Linked DNA regions of Homo sapiens: region 2 is linked to region 1. The links are contacts of gene promoters, found by promoter capture Hi-C in blood cells and fetal thymus (Javierre and others, 2016). All regions are on one chromosome and are shown on one strand. Each heading gives the region's core, a stretch centred on a gene start or on the middle of the fragment in contact. The rest is flanking DNA. Distances are from core to core; before and after follow the strand shown.

Region 1 (6,754 bases), core at 1,149-3,648:
ATCTTGAAAAAAATCTTTTGAAGTATTTAAAAAAATGCTTGATAAAACTAATATAGTTCATACACAACCAGGAAAAGTAATTCTATACTACTAGTTTAATGTATAGTAACCTAACAGTTTTTACAAATACATAACAAATGTAGACTATGAGAGAAAAAGTATATCAAGAGAAAAAATTTATCCCCATGCATTTTTCAAGAAAACGCTCTAAAAACTGGTAGAAATATTAACCATTTATAACTATTCATAGAAAATTAATTTGCTACACTTCTGCTAATTGTTTTTCTACACGGACATGCCAAAAACAACCAAATTCAGATTGAAATCCAATCTCTAATTTATTAGAATAGGTCATAAGTTCAATATCTACCATGCATAATATTTTTAAAAGTAATTGTCTTTAAACCTCATCCTTAACATACCTCATTCATCACACCAATAGTATAGAAGCAGATATATTTTTCCTTAGAAACTTCTATCTCCTTACAAATAAAATAGTTATCATAAAAAAACTTTAGACCTCTATTTGGATATATGTTTAGCTACTATAAACTAGGAGCTGAGAAACATCACAGCAGTATATAAGCTGAATTATAATCAAGGGAAAAGCCAACACATGATTTCTCATAGTATATATCTAATCACACCAACAGGAAAATAAAAACTTTCTTTGGAACTAATCAGCAACACAGAAGGACTGGGGAGAACAAAGTAGAAGTTAAAAAATAAAATTAAAGAAAGGATACAGCCTTAAAGCACCAGTCTGAGTTCCCACTGCCAGGATCTTCTGTACAGGATCAAAGGCCAGGGCTGAGGGTTGATAGGGAAATCCATGGCGAACAGTCTAGGGATGGGCAAGTGACATCACAGCAACCAAGGCAGCAAGCGAAATTTTAAAATAGAAAGTCAATAGAGGCGTTAGAATTTAGAACCACTACCACTGATGCAAAACACATACACATGCACTTACTGCTTTTGAAAAAATAAGTGAAACCTACATTAACAAAGTTATTCACATAGAACCTGAAACAAACAAAAATCTAGTCCAGTGATATACTTTAATTTCGCTTTTCCATAATACTGGTATTCCATAGAAGAAAATCTTTTATTAATATTCTATACTACTACATCCGACACCAGATGACTAAAGTTTGCAATGGTCCAAAATTCTGTAAACCCATTAAATGCAATTCATACTTTATTTTGGCAGTATTCATTTCATCATTACTTTATTTGGATGCTAACGCAAGTACTTCTAAGGAAAAGCTGTCATATAATTACTTTAGTCAAGCATTCAGTAGAGCAATAATCAAACCTCTATCCCAACATTTTACACTTGTAACAGAATGAAGATGAGTACAACATACATTTTTGCAATTTACTATTAAGGCCATAATCATTTTAGGGCATTAGACCTATATATATATATATATATATATATATGCACACTTTTAATTAACTCTGACATACAAATACATGGCTATTTATGAGAAAGGCAGGTATTAAAACCGAGGCAAGTTTGTGTTTCTCATTAAGCAGCTGGTGACTTAATTCGCTGCATCATTCTTTCTGAATTACAGAACGCTATGGCAATTATCGTGCCATTAACAGGCAAAAATCTCAGTACTTTTTAACAAACATAATGATAAAAAGAACCCTGTGATTTCATATCGTAAGCCACTTACACCACATTTTAAGGGAAAAGTGATGAGCAAAGGTGTGGTAGAACAGGTTTGGCTTTTTGATAAACAACATTCATTAGACACCGTTTCCAAAGGAAACTTCGAAGTTGGTGAATCATATTAAAACGCTTGAATATAAAAGCTTCCAGGTTATTACTGGCAGTGTCAGAATACGATTAAAGGTCGGATAATAGTTTGAAGCAACCTTGAACTGATTGCTGCATGTGCAAAGGGGAGAGAGAAAAATCAATGAAAAGGAGTAAGGTATCAATCTCCAAAACAACCCACCGAAGAAACGTTTGCCAAGGGAGGAGCGAGCCTTTTATTAGAGTTATTATTATTATTATTGGCGTTCTCTTCCCTTGCATTCCCATGTAAAGCCCGAGTAGCCCCCTTAAAACAACCCCAATTTTTCAATGACGGTGTCGCGGGGCTGCGCGCTCCGTTCACCTTGCAGAGCTGAAAGTGCTCGGACTGGAGCGTTTCCTGGATCTCCGGCTCCCGGTTCCCAGGCGGATGCTGCTGCTGTTGCTGCTGCGACGCCGAGGACGAGCCGGCGGTCAGGCCGTCCAGCACCTTCCTGATGTTGAATTTCCTCATGGTCTCGGAGGGGCTCCCCCGCAGCCCGGGAGGGGAGGCACAGGGGGTCCCCGGGCGGGGGAGACCACCCGGGGCCGAAGGCAGCTTCGACCGCGGAAACGGAGGAGTGGGAGTGTGAGGGTAAGGAGGCAGCTGGGGGGAAGCAAAAGATAATCCGAACAGGAAATACTGCGACGACAAGAGCGGCGGCCGCAAGAAACCTGGGCGGCGACCCCTCTTCCTCCGAGGCCGCCGCTGCTTGGCGCGGCTGCTGTGGTGCCGATTCAGCCGCCGCCGCCGCCGCCTCGCTCCGCGGCCCGGCAGCAGCAGCAGCAGCAGTGGCGGCGGCGCCCGAGCCCGCTCAGCCCAGCCTCACCTGGCCGCGGGCGGACTCTGCGCCGCGCCGCCGCCCCGGCTCGCCCCCGGCGCCGCCACCGTCGCCGCTGCGTCCATGGCCCGCGGCCGCGCCGCTGCTCGCCCGCCCCGGCCCCGCAGTCCCTCGGCGCGTCCTCCGGCTCCTTCTCCTCCTGCCGGGGGTCGCCGGCTCTCTGTCCGCGGCCGCCGCTCGGCCTCGCACACAAGGCGCCTGGTGTGGGTCCCCGCGCCGCCTGCCTCGCCCCGCCTCGCTCCTCCGCCGCTGGACCGGCCCGCCCTCGCCGCTCCCGAGCCCGGCTGCGTTCCTCAGGCGCCGCCGCGGCCGTCGGCTCTCCCCGCCCAGCCGCTCCCCATCGCCTGACAGGGCGCCTCGGCACACGGCACCAACGCCCGCCCGGAGCAGCAGCGGCAGCCGCGGTTACAGCGCGGGCCGCGGCGGTGGCGGCAGCAGGGCCTCCCAGGAGCCGGGCTGCGGTACCTGCGCATGCGCGCCGCAGCCCGGTTCCCCCACCCTGGCCCAGCAGGCCCCCAGCCCCCCAGCCCGAGCGAAGCTGGGGCTTAAATTATCTTCTGCGAAAATCCCAGACGCTGGCTAAATTTCTCCCACCCCAGTCGAGTTGCCAGAGTATGCAGCTGCTTCTCTTGCAGCTGGCATAGTAAAAATGTTGACGACTAACAAGCAGCAGGAAACCTTTCTTTCCAATTCAGTCATTACAGCAGGGGTTGATGCTTTCTCGCCGTTAATGGGGTGCACGCTCCTGGCCGCTGGCTGCAGTATTATTTTTCTTGCTTTATTGACGGGCGTTGTTTTTGTTTGATTGGATTTGAGTTTTGAAAAAGAGCGTCTAGACAACGATATGTCAGTGGCAGGAGGATGATGGACTTAGGTACTAGGAAAAGGAGAGAAACCTAGACGGGAAAAAACGGGTTCTTTCCTACAGCTGTTACTGTTGGTGGAACGTGTCTGGTCTTAGCAGTTAGCTGCTGGGATGGAAGAGGCTGCCAGCGGGGAACGGTTCCAGGGCCGGTGTCAGCCCGGGCCGATGACACTACCCCGCACCCAGCCCCTCGCCGGGGAGGAGCGCGGGTGGCAGGAAACGCCGCGCTGCCACTATTTTTCAGAACCTTCAATCTGCCCTGACGCTGATGAGCCACTCAGTAATGCCCTGGGAGCTTCACTCTAGAACGGGGAAAGGGGGATAGGATGAAGTTTTTGCTCAGATCTTTCCGAGGCCGCACTGCCCATCTCGCGTGAATGCTTGGAGACAAATGCCTGGCTCAAGTTGGAAAAGACAGACAAGAGATTGTGCCGGGGAAACCCCCCGGAGAGTGCGTTCAACAGGACAGGTGGACGGAAGCACAGGTACTTGATTAGGAAGGATGTGGAAATAGGAAAGACGTAAGGAAGGAAGGAAGTGCAGGAAGACTAATCCTAATTCGGGGAGAGGGGGACAGGTTCCTAGCGAATGACTCCTCGCGCGCTCTGGTCTGCGGAAAAGCCACGGAACCGCCACAAAGGGTTTTTTTAAGTTCCAAACCTGTCAGAAGCACCCGCCCTCTTCTTTGTGAGGTCGGCTCCCTCTCCTTTAGGGAAATTCTCGTCACCCTATTGGTTGAGTTAACCAGCATTCAAAAGCAGTCAGCGAACCAACTACGACTGGGCCCAGGGATTTCGGGAAATGTAGTCCACTCTGCAGCTTCCGCATCCCAGGACGATGTCTTGCATTTGGAACCTACAAAATTTTGATTTGTCGTTTAATATTTATTGAATTAGTTGATTCGCTGGGTGCAACGACCAAGAAAACAAATGTGAGGACATTCCTAAACTATTTCCAAGTGGCTCTGAATTTTTTATTAATTTAGTTCTCTAACATTTTGTTGTCAGGCGGTGTGCTAGGTACTAAAGACACGAAAATGCAATCCTTGCTTTCAGCAAGCTCACTACGGTCTAACGGAGACGACTTTTAACATAAATAGTAATTGTAAAACGATGTGATGAGTCCAATGATGGAATAATGAAGGAGGACGGCAGAGGGCCACTTAACTGGCCAGGAAGGCTTGGACATGGTGACGCCCACCATAGATCATGCCGGATAAGGAGGAGCAGACCTAGCGAACAGGAGGCAAAGACCATTGGAAGACAATGGGGAAGAGAGCCTCAGAATTACCTTGAGAGCTTTTTAAAAGTACATGTGATTCCACAGGGGGAAATTGCAAAACAGACAGATCACAACCCCATAGAATTGTATGATCTGCCTTTTTACTTACCTAGGTCTAAAATAAATCTATTGGATAATTTTTCATCATTGGATTATAAAACTTTCTAGAAAAAAAAGACAACTTCTTGTTGAGAGGCTTTGTGGTGTAGTGGGAAAATATAGGCTTTGTTGTCAGCCAGCCATGAACTTCAGTCCAGGCCATGGTAATATGTGTAATCTTGGGCAAATTTTAAATTTTTCTAGGGATCAGATTCCTCAGGTTTAAAATGAGATTAATACCACCTTCTTAGAAATTTATGAGCATGAACTGGAGGGGGAAAAGAAAGAATATGAAAAGTTTGTACTGCATTGCTTAGTACTCTGTAGACACTCAAAAATGTCAGTTTCCTATTCTATCAGGGTCCTTGAGGTAAAGGGGACTTCAAAGAGTCACCAATTTAAGCCAGTTTCCTACTTCTGACTCTAGAATGTTTGTTTTTATTTCTATACTCTATCTTTTCCATCAGGTTATGAACTCATTCTGACATTCTCAAAATTTCAGTTCTTAGTGAATACCTGGAATTTAAGATGGATATAGCCTACCTTTGTGAACTTGCAGTCCATCCTCTGTGCTCAGAGACACGGGGACTTATCCGAAAATCCAAATGGCCAAAACCAACAATGGCCCAAAATAACGACCTTTATTATAGCAAAGGTAAAATAATCGATCCTCAAACTCACAGTAATTCTTATAAGTCAGTTAGAATTAATCAATTTGTTTTTTCAAATTAGAACTGAAATTTTGAGAATTTTATTTGGAATTAAACATTTTAAGTTTAGAATTAAATACATTAAACTAAATAATCTATATTATTCATTTTTAAATTGAGCACAAAACAGAGAATTTTACCCATCATAATTTCTCAGAAAAGTTGTGTTTATTTGTTTTATTTGAATGAATGAGTAAGTATGTTGATTTCAAGCAATTCAATAGCTTCTGCCTTTAGGTGACATTCTCCTGAATGAAATTATTTCTTACCTGTTTGAAGAATGGACCATAAGGTGATGATGTAATAGTATACTACTGACAAATTATAAATATATATCTTACATTTAGCTGAGTCAAGGTGGCACTAAAAAATATTCTGCCAACACAATGAAAATAATAAGACAACTTTTTAAGAAAACGAAACTACACATACACTAAAAGAATGTTAGCATATGAAATTGACAGGTGCAGAAGACTAAAGACCAAGAATTCATAACATTTCTGAATCTATCAGTCCTCATTATCCAGTTTAAAGGTTACCAGACTAATGCAGGACCTGGTACAGATCGCAAAGGTAAGCTGGATGCTGATTGAGATGGAGAAGGCAGAAACTGAAAATAAACATTTTAATGAGAAATTATTTAATGGCAAAAGCTTTCTGGAAAGTAGAACAAATCTACCTCACTTGCTAGCATTCATTTTTATTGACTTAGTTTCAGTTTATTGAGTCCTGAAGGCTGTGTGCATGACAATAATTAATTCACTACATAGTTTAATAGACTATTGAATTTAAATTATTTGGAAATTGCAGCACAGATGTTAATTAGTTGGTTTGTCTAGTTCAAGCCACCTTTTCTGAATGAGTTCCCTAGCCCCTGCTAAATGACGGGCCTGGGCAACTCTATTTTAATCAGGTCCCCTTGTTTCCTGGTCCAAACCACTAGGATCTGAGACTGAAACCAGAAATAAGGCAAGCCAAGAGATAATCTTCTGGGAATTTGGAACTGGATTACAAAATTACAAATTAATCTGAATGAGGAGGAAGCCATGTTGTCCTAGGGCTAGGTAGTGTGTTTTATTTCCTACACACCACAGCTGAGTGTACCCATTCTTAGACAGAACTCGGGAGGATGGAGCAGACACAGAGATGA
Region 2 (6,754 bases), core at 2,342-4,841, about 21 Mb after region 1:
ATTACTGACATTTTCACTTGAAGCCTATTTGGCACTGAAAATGCTACTAATCAAAACTACAATTTCCACATTATTTTTAGTTTATCAAACACAGTCTCTGCATATAGATTGGGTGTGCTTTTTGTCTTAAAAATGTATAATCAGTAGCATATTATGTTTTGTATTTGGTCAGCGTTTAATTTTTCCATGAAAATGGTACAAGCAGATTCAGTAAAGTCACTAATAATTGAAACTGCACTTTCTGGATAATTTCCAAGGACTTTGTAGGGCTTGTTTTATAATGTTTGCAGATTCATGAAGTAAACAAACAAAATGGAATAAACAAACAACTGTTGTCTTATTGGAATTAAACTGAAAGTATTTTCAACAAGGACATGCTGCCATATCCTTTGAAAGATACTCTTAGAAATCTGTGTCATTAACCACTGCGGCAGGGGGAGAGCCATGACTTCTAAAACCACAAAAGATTTAAACATTTGGCTTTCTACTTTTCTAAGTGTGCAAAATCTTTTTCTTTCTTTCTTTTTTTGTAAAGGAATAGGTAACTATGAAAAGGGGCATTTATGATTAACTTCATTTTTACCAAACTTCTAAAAAGATGACCCAAATCAAATGGCATTCTACCAACCCAGGGATTAAAAATGAAAGCAAATGGCTTGGTAAATAAATTTTAGTGGTATTATCATTTAGGAAATAGAGCTAGAGATGTTACTTCTTGGGCTCTGATTGTTTTTTAATTAAAAATATTACATTTTAAAAAAATTTTGAGAAAAAAATGGTTTTTTTTTTTTTTTTGAAGGATACGGTATACAGCACAGTTTTAAATAAAACCACTACTGGTATTCATAGAAAGAACAGAGAAAGCATGAACACTGTTACCCTTAAGGGGAAAATAAGCTAAAGAATGGAAATGTTTTTCAACTTCATGATGGATTATGTTTTTAATAGTTTTGCCACAACAAAGCATTTTATTGAAATAGCTGCTCTGTGCCAGATCAGGGCACATACACTATTATTTTAATGAGCTTTAACAAGAACCCACATTCCCAGATGAGCGAATCAGATTGTGTTTGAGCTTTTTTTTGGGGGGTGGCGGGGTGGGTGGGGGGATTCTGGGGAGGGGATAGCTTACTTGTTTTTCAAAAGCAGTTGGCACAAGTCTTCTCAACTCAGATAAACTGTTATTTATCCGATCCCGACGCCTTTTCTCTATAATCTATCCAAAAGAAGCAAACAACAAAAGTTTATGAATTCACAAATGATAAAATTACTCAAATGAAAAAATGTAACTGTTACACAATAGTATAAGTTACATGAAATAAAAAGGGGGAAAAATCACATACCCCTCTCCTTTTCTTTCTTGCCATAATCTGAGATGTTGTTGTTGGAGAATTCAATCTAATCACAGAGCTAGTACTTTGCCTATGAAATAAGAAGAGTATGTCAGGTGCTGCATTAACATAACAATAGTTTCTTCTGGGTACTTGTGGCACCCATTAAATATTCAGAGTGATTGCACAGTTCAAGTCTGTGTTATTTTATTCTTAGTTCTTGTTTCACTCTTAACGGACTTTGCTTTCAGCCCGGCTGTCTCTTTTCAGGTAAAAATTACGCCTTAATTTGTAATCCAGATGCTAACCCATTGGCCAAAATGTCCCACAATTTTTACTTGAAAGTCTCCCAGTGAAATAATTACCGGCAGTTGGGCTGAGAAGTTAGATATTAGCATTTCCTAGTTCCACTCATATATTTTAAAGTCAACTAATCTCAAATAGCTTTCCTTCTCCCTCCTGTCAGGCACACTGAACAAAATAATGCCACTTTTTCAAATCAGGGTTATGTTAAGCACCACTATCAAACAGATGTGCAGTCGTCATACGTCAAACTCTTGTCTCTAGGTGCAAACTTTAAAATAAATAGAAGTTATCTTACTGTTTCAAAACTTCAGTTAGTCATATATTGCAACAGGAAAAAATTGACAAACTTGATGTTTTGCATACTAATCTTCCAAAAATATGCCCTAAATATGCCACTGATAGGAAAATTAAAACTCATTTTATTACTAGGTGAATGTTTTACTTTGAAAATGAAACTGTAGGTGTGTCTCAGACTTTAGGCTAAGCTTAAATCTCCAGAAGCTGCAATGCACCTTGGATTTACTAATGAAAATATATTTTTATATTGAAGGTTCAATCAAAGTATTATTTGGTCACATAATTTTTACAATCCTTTCTAGTTTGTATCTGTTTCTCTTCATAATTCATGGATACTATGCTTCTTTGTGTTCTCAAATTCCCCAGGTTCCTGTTATTTGTTCTCTTTCATTTTAGAAATGCTGCACACACCAGGTTGCTATTACCTCACCTTCTCACTTCTGGATCTTATTTCTGAATTACCTGTCCCCCTCATTTTCACCCCTTCTTTACGGGTTTCACCTTTCACGTGATAGCTTCTGTTTTTCAGACCTCATTTTTAAAGACGGCACAACAACACTTTAATGATCAGATACTTAAACCTTTGCTTTCGTGTAAATATCTTTGCTCTTGCAGATTTTGTGCTTTGCTTTGTATGTATTAGAATAACAATATGAAAGAAAACCAGTTTTCCAAAGGTAGGAAGAATTTCCCTCTTTGAGTGACAGCTGCAGATAAATAATTAAGGTGCTTCTGGGGATGCCAATTAGAAGCAATTATCATTTGACCCGCCTTGGCTCTAAAATGCCTCGGTAATCTCCCTCTGTCACAGGAAAGTGGAGGTCTGGCTTCTGTGATTACGACGCCGATCTCTTCCAGACTTGAGAACAAGCAGTCAAAGAAATGATGCCCTTTCCGATGCTTACATCTGTCACTCACTCTTGCGTTAGCCAAGTCACACACGGTCAACCTGCAAAGTTCAACCTACGTAGCCTTGACATCGCAGGTTGCTTTAATTCCTCCAAAAATCAAGTTGTGATTTTGGTATCTCTAAAAATCAAAAATCAAATTGTTTTTATTTTCTCCTGATCTATTTTGAAAGTGCCCCCAAATACGGTTTCAGTGGCTGGGACATCGCCTGTCGCCCAGACGCTGCCGTTCGCGCGTCCAACTGTGACAGCCAGGACCCTCCCTCGCCAACTCCTGCGCTCTGCCTTTCAGTGGCGTCTCCCATCCTGGCTACTCCACCCCTACGGTGAAAATCCACATCCCTTGCCCCATCCCAACTCACGCTCTGCGAGCGCCCACCACTCAAACTTTCTCAGGCCAAACTTTCCCTCTCTACCTAGATGCTGCGGAGACCAGCCTCGGGATTTCCAGGGAGCCACGCATTCACAAAGCTACCCCAAGCTCCCGAGCTGCGGGCCGCTCCCGCGGAGCCCGCGCTCACCCCGAGTAATTGTTCTCGCTCCCCACGTCGATGGTCTCGTCCATGTCGCTCTCGGAGGTCGTCTCCTCGCAGGGGCGCTTCATCCCGGCGAAGACCGCGCGGGGCACAGCCCGGCCGGAAGCTCGGACGCCGAGCGGGGCGCAGCACCCTGACGCCCGCCTCCTCCCTCCCCGGGCCTGGGCAGGCGCGGCTCCGGCGGCGGCGCGGTCTGCTCCTAGCGGCTCTTTCCCACGCCGCAACTCTGCTCGGCCGCAAGAGCCGGCGCCGGCCACGCCCCCCCCTCGAGCGGGTGGGGCCACCTCACCCGCCCCCGCGCACCGGCCCAGGCCTTCCGCCCGGCACCTCCCCCTCGCTGGTCGGCGTGGCTCGCGATTGGCTGGGCCAGGGGGCGGGGCCGCGCTCGCCAATGCCCGCCGCAAGGCTCCAGCCGAGGCGTGGGAACGCGGCCGCGGACCTGGTACCCCAGAGCAGCGAGCGGGTGGGGAGCAGCCGGGGCGAGAATGAGCGCAATCTTGCTAACCCCTGCGGAGGGAGCGCGCGGGCGCCAACGCGGGCGCGCGGGGGCGGGCCCTGGACCTGGACCTTGGGTTTCGGCCCTCCTCCGCGCCCCGCGGTCTCGCGGGCGAAGTTTCAGTCCTGAGTGTAAAGAATAACCCCAAGCGCGTGGCTAAGTGCGAGCAGGCGCGTGTGACGTCGGGAGGCGCCGCGGCTCCTCGGCCGCCCCACTCGGTGGTCCCCTGTCTGGATCCAAACTGCTGACTGGCTGACCCGAGTGGTCACATTTGCCCTCTGGGGCTTTTGAAAACCTTAAATCAAAATTGCTTTTGAATCTGACAACTCCTGAGGCTACTTTCGCGGCCTCGGGGCTGTTTCATATAAGGACGCGAGTTTTCCTGATCAGGTCTGTCGGCCACGTTACGATTTCCAATTTGCGATCCATCAGTTACTTCCATTGGGTCTTCAGCCCCCAGGGACTGTGGATCCTAGACCCCGCGGAGAAGCCCGTGGACTGGAGCTGTGTCAGCTCTGATGGTAGGAAAGACTAGATCAATGACGCGGGCATTTCAGGACATAATCGTATATTTTCAAGTTCGAGTTTTTCGGGCTTGGATTATCCAGATAATTGCCTCCAGTCTCCTCCAGTCCCCCTGGTGTATGCACTCGCAGCCGCAGAGTTAGAGTCCGGGAGGTGAAGATTGGCGCTTGGAAATTAGATTTGGTTTCTAAAGTATGAATTCGTGTCCAACAGTTCGTGCCTTGGACAACGTGGGTTGTATAAAACTCAAGCTGTGTGTTTAAAACAGGTTTTCTAGCTGCTGGTTCTCTCCAAGTTATGTAGGACTTTTGAACTGGCCACCCCGCTGTGCGTCTGCGAGGGCAGGGACTGAGCGAGACCCAGCCAGGGGCGCCGGGAGACTGGCGGCGGCTGGGTTGGGGTCCAGCCGGAAACCACACGTTGGCAGGGCCGCTTGGTCAGTAGTGGAGAGAGCCTCTGAGAAAGGGCCGTCTATCGATCCCCAGACCCCTCCGTCACGGAGGGATTCATAGCTTCCTGGGGATCGGCCCAGGGCGTCCCTTTGACACTCCGTTCTCTGTCCACACAAGCCCGGCGCGGGGCGGGGAGAAGAGGAAAGGACGCGACTGGGAAAGACGGGACCCTGGCGGGGTTTGGCCCGGGGGAGAGCGGGAAGGAGCCCGGTCGGCGCGGAGGACCTGCGGCCAGCGTGCTAAGCCCTTATTAGAACAGAAACCCCTTTCCCCCCACACTCTCATCTCTTTTGCGCGGTCCCCACCGCCATGCCTTCAATAACCTTGTGAATAGAAACCCGAATCGTTCCATCTTGGCTTCTGAAACTTAACCCCAGGCAAAGCACACACTCGGCGGGGCCAGGTGGGGCTGGATGGGGTCCGCGCCCGACGGCGGGGCCGCGGGGGTCGGTGAACCCCAGCTCCCCTGTCGGCCTCAGGGCGGATGGCTGGGTCGGCGCGGGGTTCGGGGCCTCCGATCGGCTGCACGAGGGCGGGCCAGGACCCAGACCCCGTCCCCGCTCCGGCCCCGCAATCCAGCGGGTGACGAGCCTGACGCGCGCCGGTCGCCTGCCACCTCCCGCCCCGAGCGCCCTGGGCCAGTACCTCCCGGCCGCAGGTGAACGCTCCGCGGCCCGCCAGGCTCAAGCTCGACCGTCACAACTTTCCGTGAGGGCTGCACGTTTTTCTGAATTCAAATGCCTGCAGGTGCAACTCATGTTTGCCACACGGGCAATTAGCGGGCGCGTCCAAACGCCTGAGGCAAAACCTGAGATCATCACTGAAAAAAAAAAATCTAACAGTTCTTTGCCACTATACTAGTGTATTTAATTATGATTGCGAAAAATTGCAGAGGGAAACGATTTGCTGGCAATTAAGTAGCAACTGGTTAAAGTTTTTTTTCAATTTGTCTTTGAAGACAACTGCTGTACTATGTATAAAGAAGAGTATAGCAGGGAAGTTCGAAAGCACACACGGAATTTTAAATCTGTTAAAAATATTTTTTAAGCAAAGAAGGTGGTATTTTAAAAGCATTTAAAACAGCGCCTGGTATATAGTAAGCGCCATAGAAGTCTGTTAAGAATGCATAGGGCAAGAGAGCTCAGGGTTTTGAACGCTATCAAAATAATATGCTTATTTATCTGCAAAACACAATAGCAATTAGGCAGCACGAGATTTCCCCATTAGGTCGTTTATTCTCCTCAGCTGTTTATTCCATTTGCCTGTCCCTTGGTTGAGCGCCTTGTCTGTCTATAACCGAAAGTGCGTTTCGGGTCAGAGAGACAGAAACAGACACAGGAAACCCTTTAAAGCGCCCCCGCCGACTTAAATACGGTAGTGGATTGGAGGTGGGGAGGTGTAGGGGAGGCGTTATGTGGAGAGAAAGAAAAGAGAAAGAATGAGGGAACGGCGGGATTTCAAGCCTCCCCGCCCTTCTGCGACAACCTTTTCAGCGAAAGGGAAGGCTTAGGAAGAAAAGATGTCCGCGCGTAGAGCAAACCGCAGTTCTTTCCTTTCTTTTTGAAGGATTTGTACCATGAGTTAATTACACCAAAAGATACGAGGGACTTTATTAGAAAGGAGATGCCGTTAGGAAAGAAAGGCCAGGACGGCCGATCTAAAGGGAATGGAGAAGGGAAGACTCAGACGCCCTCCCGAAATTGGTGGTCTAGCCTGTGTTTTGTGCTAAATGTTATTTAACTTAATGGCGTGGGAGTGAGATGTTGAATGCAGAGATCTGGAAATACCAGATTTAGTGGTCCTGTTCCTCCTCCCCGACTCTTTTCACACCCATTTAATAAAAAGTTACAGTTTTTACACCCGTATTGATAAATTTGGCGATGTTGGCCAAGTATTATCTCGC

Evidence for each region. Contacts are between HindIII fragments. The CHiCAGO score rates a contact against its expected background, and 5 or more counts as called.
Region 2: the fragment with the promoter of HEY2 here is called in contact with the fragment with the promoter of STXBP5 in region 1 in 1 of 17 cell types (total B cells); the score reaches 6.4 in total B cells.

What each region holds. Positions count from the first base shown.
Region 1 is chr6:147,200,061-147,206,814 of GRCh38, reverse strand. STXBP5 (syntaxin binding protein 5) reads right to left here and starts at 2,398. Exons shown (of 28, transcript NM_001127715.4): 1 at 2,133-2,398; 2 at 747-844. The coding sequence starts at 2,282. STXBP5-AS1 (STXBP5 antisense RNA 1) reads left to right here and starts at 2,201. Exons shown (of 11, transcript NR_034115.1): 1 at 2,201-2,402. LOC124901422 (a long non-coding RNA gene) reads left to right here and starts at 3,244. Exons shown (of 2, transcript XR_007059803.1): 1 at 3,244-3,999; 2 at 4,522-4,939. RefSeq lists silencers at 2,256-2,445, 2,616-2,695, 2,716-2,765, 2,796-3,215. The HindIII fragment of the contact is 4,433 bases long and covers 1,827-6,259 here.
Region 2 is chr6:125,746,469-125,753,222 of GRCh38, reverse strand. HEY2 (hes related family bHLH transcription factor with YRPW motif 2) reads right to left here and starts at 3,591. Exons shown (of 5, transcript NM_012259.3): 1 at 3,364-3,591; 2 at 1,344-1,422; 3 at 1,133-1,216. The coding sequence starts at 3,446. HEY2-AS1 (HEY2 antisense RNA 1) reads left to right here and starts at 3,798. Exons shown (of 5, transcript NR_183491.1): 1 at 3,798-4,264. RefSeq lists silencers at 3,373-4,082, 5,257-5,436. The HindIII fragment of the contact is 5,509 bases long and covers 2,125-6,754 here.